3 separate regions of the Homo sapiens genome follow, and all the other regions are linked to region 1. The links are contacts of gene promoters, found by promoter capture Hi-C in human tissues and cell types (Jung and others, 2019). All regions are on one chromosome and are shown on one strand. Each heading gives the region's core, a stretch centred on a gene start or on the middle of the fragment in contact. The rest is flanking DNA. Distances are from core to core; before and after follow the strand shown. Region 1 overlaps MMP26 (matrix metallopeptidase 26). Region 2 holds the start of OR51F2 (olfactory receptor family 51 subfamily F member 2). Region 3 holds the start of OR51L1 (olfactory receptor family 51 subfamily L member 1).

What was found. The method cuts DNA at HindIII sites, captures the fragments that hold promoters and counts their contacts. A contact is called where the count stands out against the background at its distance.
Region 2: a contact is called between the fragment with the promoter of OR51F2 here and a fragment that was not itself captured in region 1, in 2 of the 25 tissues and cell types used here (small bowel and thymus).
Region 3: the fragment with the promoter of OR51L1 here is called in contact with a fragment that was not itself captured in region 1 in 2 of the 25 tissues and cell types used here (mesenchymal stem cells and thymus).

The regions. Positions count from the first base shown.
Region 1 is chr11:4,899,202-4,903,740 of GRCh38, forward strand. The region is part of intron 2 of MMP26 (matrix metallopeptidase 26); the gene reads left to right. Among named protein-coding and RNA genes, the nearest start is that of OR51A7, 2.3 kb to the right of the region's middle. The HindIII fragment of the contact is 6,232 bases long and covers 1-4,539 here.
Region 2 is chr11:4,818,768-4,822,867 of GRCh38, forward strand. OR51F2 (olfactory receptor family 51 subfamily F member 2) reads left to right here and starts at 2,554. Exons shown (of 1, transcript NM_001004753.2): 1 at 2,554-3,689. The coding sequence starts at 2,655. The coding sequence ends at 3,647. The region is part of intron 2 of MMP26 (matrix metallopeptidase 26); the gene reads left to right. The HindIII fragment of the contact is 11,845 bases long and covers 1-4,100 here.
Region 3 is chr11:4,993,276-4,997,313 of GRCh38, forward strand. OR51L1 (olfactory receptor family 51 subfamily L member 1) reads left to right here and starts at 1,576. Exons shown (of 3, transcript NM_001004755.2): 1 at 1,576-2,060. The HindIII fragment of the contact is 11,490 bases long and covers 834-4,038 here.

The sequences.
Region 1 (4,539 bases), core at 1,007-3,506:
CGAAGAAAGGCTGACAGAGAAATTCACTGCATAATTTATTGCAGTCTACTCTTGTATTACTCAAATTCAACTGCTTCATTTGGGAATAGCTCTTCTCATGTTTGTGTTGTCTATTTGCCCAAGAAGAAGACACGATCATGAAAAGTTTGTGAACGAACTACAACATACATCACTTAAGCTGTTCTTGAAACCTCAACTGATCTTATCATCTGCCATCTCTATAATCCATTCTAAATTCTTCTTTAGTAAAGACTACAACATTTATTGCATAGGTTTCTTTCATGGTAGAGCAACCAGATCCTTTTTTCAAAGGGTAAAAATGTCTCTATAGAATGACCTTTTCAGGCTAAGGCTATTTCACTTGCTAATTTATCATCAAAATTTGCCAGGATGGTACCAAGAGACAACCAGTCAGCTATCTGGGTACTGAACATATTCTTCCATTCCTTCATTGTTTATTAGAAGCCCTATCTTTTCCTGATGATCAAGGATTAATTAATTACCCCATCAGGCTAATGACCTCTTTCCTTGCCAGCTTGTTTTTGAGCTTAGAGAAGATCAAAGTTATTAGGCAAGAGCTTAACATAAATTTTATTTATTTTATTTTTAAATTAATTAAAAGATCCTCACAATGTCTCCCACTCTGAAAATGAGGACCTTTAGCTCAACAGAACATAAATTGCAGAAATAGGAAACACAAATTTTCCAAGTAGGTCACCAAAAATGATGGTAAGTGGGACTACTCTTAATTTCAGCTCTTTTGTTCCCAAATATATTTATTCTAATCATTGCAGTCAAAGCTATGTATAATGATTGTTGGTGTGTTGTACATGACGCATCTGGGGTATGTTGTCTCATCCTCACTAATGTCGTCTCTAAGGTGGAGACTCAACTCTACCTGTTCTATTTCTGTACCAGATTGGAAGCTTTTGAGTGGTGTAGCCCATGATACAAGCATGGTTGTGTGTCTACTGTTGCAAGTATTCTAAAATGTGTCCCTTTTCATGAAGTGATATAACATAATGTCCTATGCTGGTGGATCAAACCCTTTGTAAGCCCTGAGATACTAGGTTTGGCTATGACTCTTCAAGAAAATAAAACAAACCTACACCCATCATATGTGTCAATTTCTATCAAGTTCATTTGCTGCCTTTTGTGGGGTAGAATAATCTTCCATTAAGTGGCCATTTTCTACTCAAGAAGTGATGCTACATTGGGCAGTTAACATTGTTTTCTATCATTGCCAGGTTAATATTTAGTAGAAAGAGAAGTTTTATCAGCCTTGTTGAGTGGGAAACTATGCTTTGTGTTTATGCAGTTTTCATCCTGCCACTATAGCTACTTCAATTAGGAGCCAATTATGCCACCACTGAGGTTGCTTATATCAGAATCTAGCTGATATAAATTGTCAGGTCCACTCAGTGTTCTTTATAGCTTAGGTTCTTTTCCATTATGTATAGACTATGATGAACATTGATCTTTTATATAAAGATCTTCAAACTTTGTTCTAACTTCTAGAACCATCCACATGCCACTTCATCCCTCTGCCTCTTTGTCACTAGTATTCCAGTCTTTCTCCTTCCAACAGCCTGGTCAATTAGCCAAGTTACCCACCATTAACAATAAGTTGAATTTTTGTGTATTCTTACATAGAACCACCTCTTTTTTATACAAAGAGGATGAGTGAGTCCATCAGCTGATTTGTCCGTGGGATGTATTTCTCCTAAGTACTATCTTTCAAAGTCACTCCTTAATGGATCAGTAACACATCTACAGTTCATTTTTGGCATACCAACTTTACTCATTTATGAACTAACTTGGCTTTCATCCCCCACCAGCTGGTCATAAGGGATCATCCACGTAGCTACAAGTGTAAGCTTAGGGAAAGTGCACCACATTGCAATAGTAGTGCACTAACATCAGTGGACTTCGCATCACCTCTTTGTGCTTTTTTTTTTTTTTTTTTTTTTTTTTTGAGACGGAGTCTCACTCTGTCGCCCAGTCTGGAGTGCAGTGGCGTGATCTCCGCTCACTGCAAGCTCTGCCCCCCGGGGTTCATGCCATTCTCCTGCCTCAGCCTCCTGAGTAGCTGAGACTACAGGTGCCTGCCACCACACCTGGCTAATTTTTTTGTATTTTTAGTAGAGACGGGGTTTCACAGTGTTTGCCGGGATGGTCTCAATCTCCTGACCTTGTGATCCGCCTGCCTCGGCCTCCCAAAGTGCTGGGATTACAGGTGTGAGCCACCATGCCCGGCCCCCTCTTTGTGCTCTTTCAGTTGTGCTTGATGGTCTTACTTGTGTCTTAGCATGGGCATACGTCTTTCTGTTATGTGAGTAGAATTAGCACTCAAAGTGTGGCATATGCTGCCTCCGGGGTTTCAGGAGGTCACTACATGTGGTACTTTCTTCTTGGTGGTAAAAGATAAAAAATGCTTTAGTTTGTCTATTAACTGAGAGAGGCTGTCGCAATTTTTCCTATACCGCAGGATCCCTAAAAACTTCTCTAATGTTTAAGATTCCTACTTTTTTGTATGGGTGTTTATCTCTATCCTTTCCCACCTAAAGAGCACTGTGTTTTGACAAGAATGCCAATATACTTGCATTTCATGCTCGTCTACCTGATTAATATATTGTCATTGATATAGTGGGTCAATAAAATATTATGCAAAATATCCAAAGAAAATAAGTATTTTCAAATTATAGATTTATTATAGAAGATGGAAGAGAATATATTTGCCACATAAATACTACATACTTGATAATCGAATCCAGGTTAATCTTAATCTTCCCTGGTAAAAACACTGCACCTGACATAAAACTTTAAACTGATGTTTCTACTTGGTTGAGATTGGAGTCCACAGTAGTCCTCCATGACCCTTTTCGTTACACACACAAAAGTAGCCAGTAAGAGAATCCAGTTTACAGAGAATGCTCTATTTATAAATAAATCTTGTGAGTTACCTTTCCTCTGGGTACTATTACAGTTCACTTCAGATGAAAATTTTAACAATAACTTGCTACAGCATGTCAGGGACCATCAACATTTCATCTGCAACCAGTGATGTGGTTCCTATTGTGATGCAGACAGTGATGAATCCAACTCTAGAATTTCTTATTGGCAATCTGTTTTCTAGAATCTTTTCTCACTTACAAGTAAGAACACAGTATCTGGTTTTCTGTTGCTGTGTTAATTTGCTCAGGATAATGGCTTCCAGATGCATCCATGTTGCTCCAGAGGACACGATTTTGTTCTTTTTTTGTGGCTGTGTAGTATTCCCTGGTGTACATGTATCACATTTTCTTTATCCAACCTTCTGTTGGCACCTGGGTTGGTTTCATGTCTTTGCTATTGTTTGACACACTTTTTAGTTGTGTTGTTTGTTTTCTTATTGAGTTTCAAGAATTCTTGTGTCTTTTGCAAATATTTTCTTCCAATTAGCAACTTATAATAAAATGTTAAGTCCCAAGATAATAAGGTGGGTATCAAATGCATCTGCTAGAATAGCCCAATGACATTTAATAAGTCTATTTGCTTCAGATAACTTAACATGGAGAATATGTAATCTCATTTATCTTATGGGAGTTGATCGTCTTCTCCAGACATGGGAACTAGCAATGAGTGGGCTTATCCCTGCTCATTGTTTTAAATTTCTATTCATTTCTTATTCACAGATATATGTATTTTGTATTTGAGCCATGTTGTGTCTTTTATATTATTATTCCATTAAATTGTATTAATTAAAATTATTTTATTATTAATGTAAGGCTTTCCATTATTTTAACCAAAGTTTTTCTTTTTAACTTAGAAATATGCTTTAAGAAATACTTAAAACAGTTATATATATATCCTTATTTTATACATTTTTACTTAAATTGTCTTCACATTTTTATATTGTTTCATAGCCTTAAATAATTATTATTTAATTTAAACCATGATGGAACTGACATATAAAATAGAAATATGTGAATAAAACGCAGGATACTCCTCGGACGGTTCTAGTGAATGCAATATAATGTGGAAGGCATGTAGTTTTGAGACACTGCTTTAAAAATCTAACAGAGTACGACAGGCTATGTCTATTTCAATGTTAATATTTTGCCAAAAATGGATCATACAAATAAGTGGAATGACTGGTAAACCATTTTATAGTTTGTAAAGTGCTTTTCTAAATATTTGATACTTATAGATTACTATCTCCATTTTGTGGATGATTAAGCTAAGATGAAGAACGTTTAAGTGGTTTGACTTAGAATTGGACATAAAGTGTTTTGATTATAGATAACATGTTATTTTAACTATATTTTCCAACCTCTACAAATCCCATGTGTCAAGCTTCTTCAACTTCAAATGTTTACCTTTCAGATGAGTAGTCTCCCTGTAGTTTGTCTCACAATTTGCCTCTAGTTTCTGTTAAGGTACAATGAATACAAAGTAATGTACCAGCCCCAGGCCTAACCCTTTCTGTGTAAGCTTGATTACTCTCAAGGGTCTAGTCACCTGAGGAAAAGAGAAGTAGGTACCTCTAGATAAAGTGGA
Region 2 (4,100 bases), core at 1,304-3,803, 80 kb before region 1:
CCGGAATAGAGAAGGTACTTAATAAATGGATGTTGTTATTGCTTTGGAGTCTTTCATTTTATATTATTATATTAATGTGACTATATTAATAAAATACAGTATTAGACTAATTCAATAGTCCAGGTTAGAGAGTGAATACATTTGGAAAAGAGTATTTTGTACTCAGATAAAGACAAGCTGGAAGAATAAAGACAGATATTAGAGGTTGAATAGAAAAGATTGGAAGAGGTGTTGGTTAAAAAATAAGAGAATACAGGATAACTCCTAGATTTCTGATTTAGAAAATTGGGTCATTTTTATGAAAGTTATAGCCTTTATACAGAAAATGGTATAGGAGGAAAAACAGTTATAAGAGAAAATAATCAATTTGGTTTTGAACATAGGAGGTTTTCTTATTTACCCATGAAAAATCTAGATGGAAATGTCCAGAATAAAGTTTTATCTTCAGACATGGAACCTAAACACCAAAACTGGTTTTCAGAAATTCACTTGAAATTTATTATTGTATAGGTGAAATATGAGGCTGTGAAAATGGGGGAGATAATTTTACAAGTGACTTGAGAATAGGCAAAGGAGAGATCTCTGAAGAATGCCAAATATAAGGTTGGAAAACATAAGGTACCCGGGAGAGGGGGGAAAGAAACAAGAAAACTGAAACAGTCAGAGAAAGAGCTGATTAATGGGAGAATATTAAGAGAGACTGGTATCATAAAATAATGAGGGAGAGAAAATTTCCAGAATCATCAACAAAATATGTATTGTTGAAAGAATGAGATGGTCACTGAAATGAGTCGACTGATTTTTTTTTTTTTTTTTTTTTTTTTTTTTTGAGACAGTGTTTCTCTCTGTCACTCAGGCTGGAGTACAGTGACACATTCATGACTCACTGCAATCTTGACTTCTGAGCTCAAGAAATTCTCCTACTTCAGCTTACCCAGTAGTTGGGACCTACAGACATGTACCACCATGCCTGGCTAATTTGTAAACGTTTTTGTAGAGATGGGGTTTCCCTATGTTACCCATGCTGGTCTTGAACTCCTGGGCTCAAGTGATCCTCCCGCCTCGACCTCCCAAAGTGTTGGGATAACAGGCATGAACCCTGTGCCTGGCCTCAACTGAATTTGATGGTTCCATTTTGGTGTTATTTTCCATAGTGGATATAGCCTGGATACCTGATTTTCTTGGCCCTTTGCATACAGGAACTATCGATATTAAGACTACTTTCCAGAGAAGCCTAAAGAGCTTCATATCTCCACAGTTCACATGGAATTAACATTTGACACATCAAACTCCCCTCCAAAGATACCACACGGACCATAGTATGTCTCTTTAAAATCATACACCTGGAGCCTTTGTCAGACTGGTTTAGAAATTCCTTTTATGCATTCCTCAGCTTTACTGAGTGAAGGCATTGAGGTTAGATATGCAGGTTTCATCCTCATTTCTTCTACTGCCTAACTGCATAATTTGGGGCAAATTACTTAATGTAAATATCAGTTTCTTCATATGTATATTAGGGATAAGAAATTTATTTTCTTTGTTGAATAATAATGATTGGATCATATTATGGATATGAAGATAATTGTGTCTGGCATATGGCACATGTTCAAGAAATGCTGGCTATTGTGTTTTTTTTATTTTGATACTAGTCTGTGGTATTATTTATCATAGTGTAGTGCTTAATTTATTGTAGTAAAATTATGGTAAGGTTTGCTTTTTTCCTCCATTCCTTCCCTTTCTTCCTTCCCTTCTTTCTCACTCCCTCCCTTCTTCCTCTTATTCCTCCTCCTCCTCTTGCACTTTCCTCCTCTTCCCCTTTGTGCTCTTACCTGCCTCCACCTTCACTAGTCTTTCTCTTTCTCCTCCTTCTTCTCCTCCTCCTCTGTCATCGTTGTCTCTCTCCTTTCTCCAACTTTCTTACTTTTGTGGTTTCTCTCAACATTTAGGCAGTGCTTTATAAAGATAACATTGGGTGATTAATTGCTGAGTCTTAGCTTGCTCATCTGCAAAATTCGTGTACGATCTATCTCCAAGAGTTGGTGTATGGATGAAATTATATAATGCATATAAAATGTCAACAACACAGGGAACTCCCAACAAATGCGATCAATATTTATTTTTCTTAGGGTGTTTTTTTGGGCCACCCTATTACCACATATATGGGCCTGTGTGTCCCAGGGATTTTTTGGCATTCTTCTGGATATTTTCCAAGGAAATATAATAATATTCACATTTCAGATATGACTTAGTTTGCTCAGTGTTTTATTCCAGAATCAAAATTTATTTTCAACAAGTACTGGAAAGCAGGTTTCTCATAATATTGTTTAGGAATTTTACTGGGGATTTATATTGGCAGACGTGACTTAATTGTAATGTTTATTGCTAGTAATGAGAATTATAGGCTTAATATACTTAAGAAAATTTGATGTGGCACAGTTCAGGGAATTCACTTTTCTCAATAAATGTGAAACACTGACAGACTTGGAGAGAAATGTGTAGCTCTGGGAAGCTAAAAAGAAAATTCAAGTTCTTTGAAAATTAGAAATAATAACTCAGTGAATCTTGAAGTGCCAGAGAGATGTTACAAGTGATAAACTATGTATTATGTGTTATGTTAAATGACTGAAACATCCCTGTCTTCTCAGTGCTTCCCTATGTCGGTCCTCAATAATACCATTGCTGAGCCTCTGATCTTCCTCCTGATGGGCATTCCAGGCCTGAAAGCCACCCAGTACTGGATCTCCATCCCTTTTTGTCTCCTATATGTTGTTGCCGTCTCTGGAAATAGCATGATCCTGTTTGTGGTCCTCTGTGAACGGAGCCTCCATAAGCCTATGTACTATTTCCTCTCTATGCTTTCAGCCACAGACCTGAGCTTGTCCCTGTGTACACTTTCTACTACCCTTGGTGTCTTCTGGTTTGAAGCCCGAGAAATCAACCTAAATGCCTGCATTGCCCAGATGTTCTTTCTACACGGATTTACTTTCATGGAGTCTGGGGTTCTACTGGCCATGGCCTTTGATCGTTTTGTGGCCATCTGTTACCCACTGAGATACACTACCATCCTTACCAATGCCCGAATTGCCAAGATTGGGATGAGCATGTTGATAAGAAATGTTGCCGTCATGTTGCCAGTCATGCTCTTTGTCAAGAGGTTGTCCTTCTGCAGTTCTATGGTCCTTTCACATTCTTACTGCTACCATGTTGATCTCATCCAACTCTCCTGCACAGACAATAGGATCAACAGCATCCTTGGTCTGTTTGCGCTTTTGTCCACTACAGGGTTTGACTGCCCTTGCATCCTGCTCTCCTATATCCTGATCATTCGATCTGTCCTCAGCATTGCTTCCTCAGAAGAGAGGCGGAAAGCCTTCAACACCTGCACATCCCACATCAGTGCTGTTTCCATCTTCTACCTCCCTCTCATCAGTTTGTCTCTTGTCCATCGCTATGGCCATTCAGCACCTCCATTTGTCCACATCATCATGGCCAATGTCTTTCTGCTAATCCCTCCTGTGCTCAACCCTATTATTTACAGTGTAAAGATTAAGCAGATTCAAAAGGCCATTATCAAGGTCTTAATTCAGAAGCACTCCAAATCTAATCATCAGCTATTTCTGATTAGAGATAAAGCCATTTATGAATAAGTGCTTTGCTACAATGGAGTAATTGTCCCAAAGTGCCCACACATGCCTCCAACAGTCCAAACTAAGCAATTTATAGGTTATGTGACATTTATTTAGTCAATTTCTTTGTCAATAAATTCATGTCATTGCCAACTAAATTATGATTTTGTTTTCAATATGAAGTGAAGAAACATATATAAACAACTAATTATATTTGTAAGCAGTATGAAAGCTACATAAAGTATTAATTCAGGCTCTGTATACAATTATAAAAGTTCACATTTAATGTGAGAAACTTTCTAAATAAGTCAGTTGTTATTTTCTGAATGACACACAGAAAACACTTTAATTAGTTTCTTTTCTTGAAATTCTTGATTATATATGCGATTCCAAAATAGAGATTCTATAGGGTGGATCCTAAAATACACATCAATGTAATTCCACATTGGGTCTTATCTAGATGGAATTATTTTG
Region 3 (4,038 bases), core at 326-2,825, 93 kb after region 1:
ATTTCTTCAGGTATTTTAGAGCTTTGTGTAATCTCAATCTCATAACAAAACATGACAAAGACATTACAGTAAGGAAAATTTCAGGCCGTGCTTACTGATGAACATCGATGTCAAAATTCTAAACGAAATATTTGCAAACCAAATCTGGCAATAAATAAAGAAAAGAAAATGGCATTCCAAACTTGAGTTTATTCCAGAAAGACAAGTTGATATTTGAAAATCAATCAATATAATTAATCACATTAACATGATATTAAAGAAAAATAATATGTATCATAAAAGCATGAATTTCAATAAACCCAAAATAATTTTATGAAATTCAGCATCTATTTTTGACAAAATCCCTTATCACATGAACAATAGAAGATGACAACATTCTCGGATAAAAGCAGGTACAAAAAATCTTAGCAAACATACTTAATGGTAAAATGTTGTTAACCACACCTGTGATATCTGCAAAAAGAAAAGAAAACAATTTTTATCCCTTCTCCCCAAAATGCACTGGAGATCTTATCCAATGCAACAAAGCAATAAATATAGAAAACGATAATGAAGATTTTAAATAAGAGAAAAAGAAGCTGACATTACTTGTGGAGGTGTGATTTGGTGCAAAATAAGGCCTTAGAGAATACAGATCACTTATTAAAAATAAAAAATAAGTTCAGCTTTTCTGAAAAAAGAAAAATTAACTTTATTTTTATGTAACAGTCCCAAATATTTAGAAAAAATTAATCATGCTACTTACGTTAGCACAATTGAATGCCAAATATGTGAGAATAAACCTAGTGTAAAATATGTAATCTCCAAACAGACAAGTATAAAATAATATTGAGAAAAAATAAAGACCTTAATTAATTGAAGTTCCTGTTCTTGGATTAGTTATCTTACATTCTAAACATGTAAATTCTCCCCAAATCGATCTACAGATTCAATACATTCTCAATAGTAGTCTCAATGTATATCTTGGTAGAAATGGATAACCTGTTTCTAAAATTTATTAATAAATGCAAAGAGGTAGGATAGCCAATATGCAAAGAAAAAAAATGTGTTGGGAGATGATGCTTCTTACCAAGCACTGAGGAAGCAGCAATGAACTGGATAGTAGCGTTTGCCTTTAAAGTGCTTAGTGTGCCTTCTTGAACCCTGTTGCTTAATAAATGCTTATGAAGCACATGACTAATAAATAACTCTGTTTAGTGAAATGTGGTAAACATCTTATAATGGAAAGACTTATCATTGCACTTTCTCATCATTGTTCTGTACAATGCCCCTAGTTAAAGCCGAAATTTCAGTATTCTTCTGGATCACAGTAGTTATCATAAATTTACTTTCTTACACTCATTTGAGAAAACTATTAGAGAACTAAGAATGGTGGATGAAAACAGGGATGCATTTCTACTATTTTCAGTATTATGATCATATGCTCTTGCCATACCTGTGGTTAAGGGCTTTTTATGGCCATTTCATCTCTGGGGATCCAACAGACTCTGACACCAATCCCTAATTTTCTTTGCCAGGAGACACCAGGAGTATTTATAGAGATGGTGGAAGCCTTCAAGCCTCACCACTCACAGAGTCGAAGGTTTTCAAAACCTGAGGTTCATAGAGACTTAAAATTGTAGCATCTTTAATCAGTACAGGTTTGATTTTCAGGTAGAGATGGGAAGTTTTCTCAGGTGAGAGATAAGCCCGTAAGAGCAGCAACTTAAACCACAGACACACAAAGAGAAATTAGAAGAAAGAAACAGCCAATCAAAGGGACCGGAAAAAATAGAGGATTACATGCTGAAAAGACACAAACTTAGATAAAAACAAAATATAAAAAAATGGCAGCAGGAAGGAGGCTAGAAAAGATAGTAAAGATAATTTGACACATAAAATGAGATAAAGAGAGAAAAAGCCACAGACATAGGAACAGAAAGAAAATATGACTTTAACTATAGTGAAGAAAAGTTTAGTCAGAGAAAGACAAAATGGAACTGTGGATCATTTGAGAAATGGGCTACTGATTGCAAATTAACTAGGCATATTGATTCAATTGCCTTATATTTAAATTTCAGGTAAGTGTGAATTTTTAAATTATAAATAGTTGGTAGATTTTAGCACATTTTGTATGTGGATATAGTTTGCTAAAGAGAGTAAAATTATGAGAAAGATGATGTACCATTTATGCAAAAGGAAAAAGAATTATTCTCATCTGTGAAAAAAATTAAATTTATTACAGTATTGTAATGTCTTGTTCCAATTATTTTCAGCGATTTTAAGATAAGCGATAAGCTGATTAGCAGAGAATAGGTTTTGATACTAGAGAGGCTGTAAAAAAATGGTCTTATGTTCAGTAGTTCTCCCTTAATTACCTGGAATAGGTGAATGTGTGACATAAGCCTATTCATGCCTCTGCCCTTTGAAACAGTCTTGTTATTACTCCCAGTTCTTTTCTATTATTTCTCTTTCGACCTCAGTGTGATTAAGTTGTACTAAAATCAACAAAGAACCACAAAGAATCATTGTCAGTGACCCAGAAATAGAGTCAAAAGAAAATGAATAGAGAAAAGACAATAAATGGATTTTAAAAAGTGAAAGACATGACAGATATGGCAGTGAGAGGATAAGAAAGGGAAAGTACACACAGAAATAGAAACGGGAAAGGGGCTTAGGGGGCCCGGGTAGTGGAGGAAATGCGGAAAAGTAGCTCAAAGCATACAAACTTGCAGTTATGTAGGAAGAATAAGTCTAGAGATCTAATATACAGCATGACCACAGTTCATAATATTGTAGAATGGGAACTCTTTTCAGGTGAGGGATAAATCAATGAGATAAAGCAGTGAGTTAATAATATTGTAGAAATGGGGACTCTTTTTAAGTGAGGGATAAACCAATATGAGCAAGAATTAAAACCACAGAAATTGTATACCGAAAATTTGCCAAGAGAGTAGAGCTTAGGTGTTCTTAGCATACACATGCACGTGTGTGCATGCACACACACACACACAGGCACATAGTAATGACCATTTCACTATGTATATGTCTATGTATATGCATATATATATATAAACATCATTCTGTATACCTTAAATATACACAGTTAAAAATTAATAGGGATTACAAACAGAAATATTCCTGCCTGTCCTAACCTCAAATCTATTGGCCAGTCTACAACTGAAGTTTTCTAAACATCGCAATCTGCACATAGGGGACTTGCACATAAAGCAGGGAGAAAGAGAATTCTAAAGAGTAGTGATCCACTTTGTTCTTTGCATTCTATGTGAGAATTTAAGAAAATATGATTTATTTCAGGACTGAAAGAATTAAAGGAGAAAACATGGAATATTTTTCTGGCATGGGGTAAAATAAACTACTTCTCCACTGTGGCCACAGTTTTCTTTTCTTTTTCTTTTTTTCTCTTTCTTTCTTTTTCTTTCTTTTCCTTCCTTCCTTTCTTTTCTTTTCTTTCTTTCTTTCTTTCTTTCTTTCTTTCTTTCTTTCTTTCTTTCATTTCTCTCTCTCTGTTTCTTTCTTTCTCTCCTCCCTCTCTCTCACTCTGTGTGTGTGTGTGTTCTTTTTATTTCGATGTTAATACCTATATCATTTTTATGAGCTCAACTGTACAACAGGAGGTCAAAAAATTTTTCTGAGTGAGGAGAAAGAAAAAATAAAGTCAGCTAGTGATATGGAAGACTGGAGAGAAAAATGTTGCTTAGGGGTGAAGAAAAATAAATGCTCTAAACACATACTCTGCTGGGTGTGAAGAATTTGATGGGTAGCTGACTGCTTTATTTAAGACGAGGGTCTCAAATGAAAGCTTCATTCACATTGCCTAGGCTAGAGAAGAGTACCAGGTTAGGTTCTGACTCATAGAAGATGGAGGATTCCTGTACTTGGGTAAAAGTAGAAAAAGAGACAAATCCTTCTCATTACATGGAGAAGAGGGCTTTGTGCTTTCTTTTGTTCCTCAGATACAGATTCTAAATCAAGTCCTCTTTGGAATTCTAAGTTGTGCCATCTAAGAACTTTCAGTCTTCACGGTATGAAAGTGAG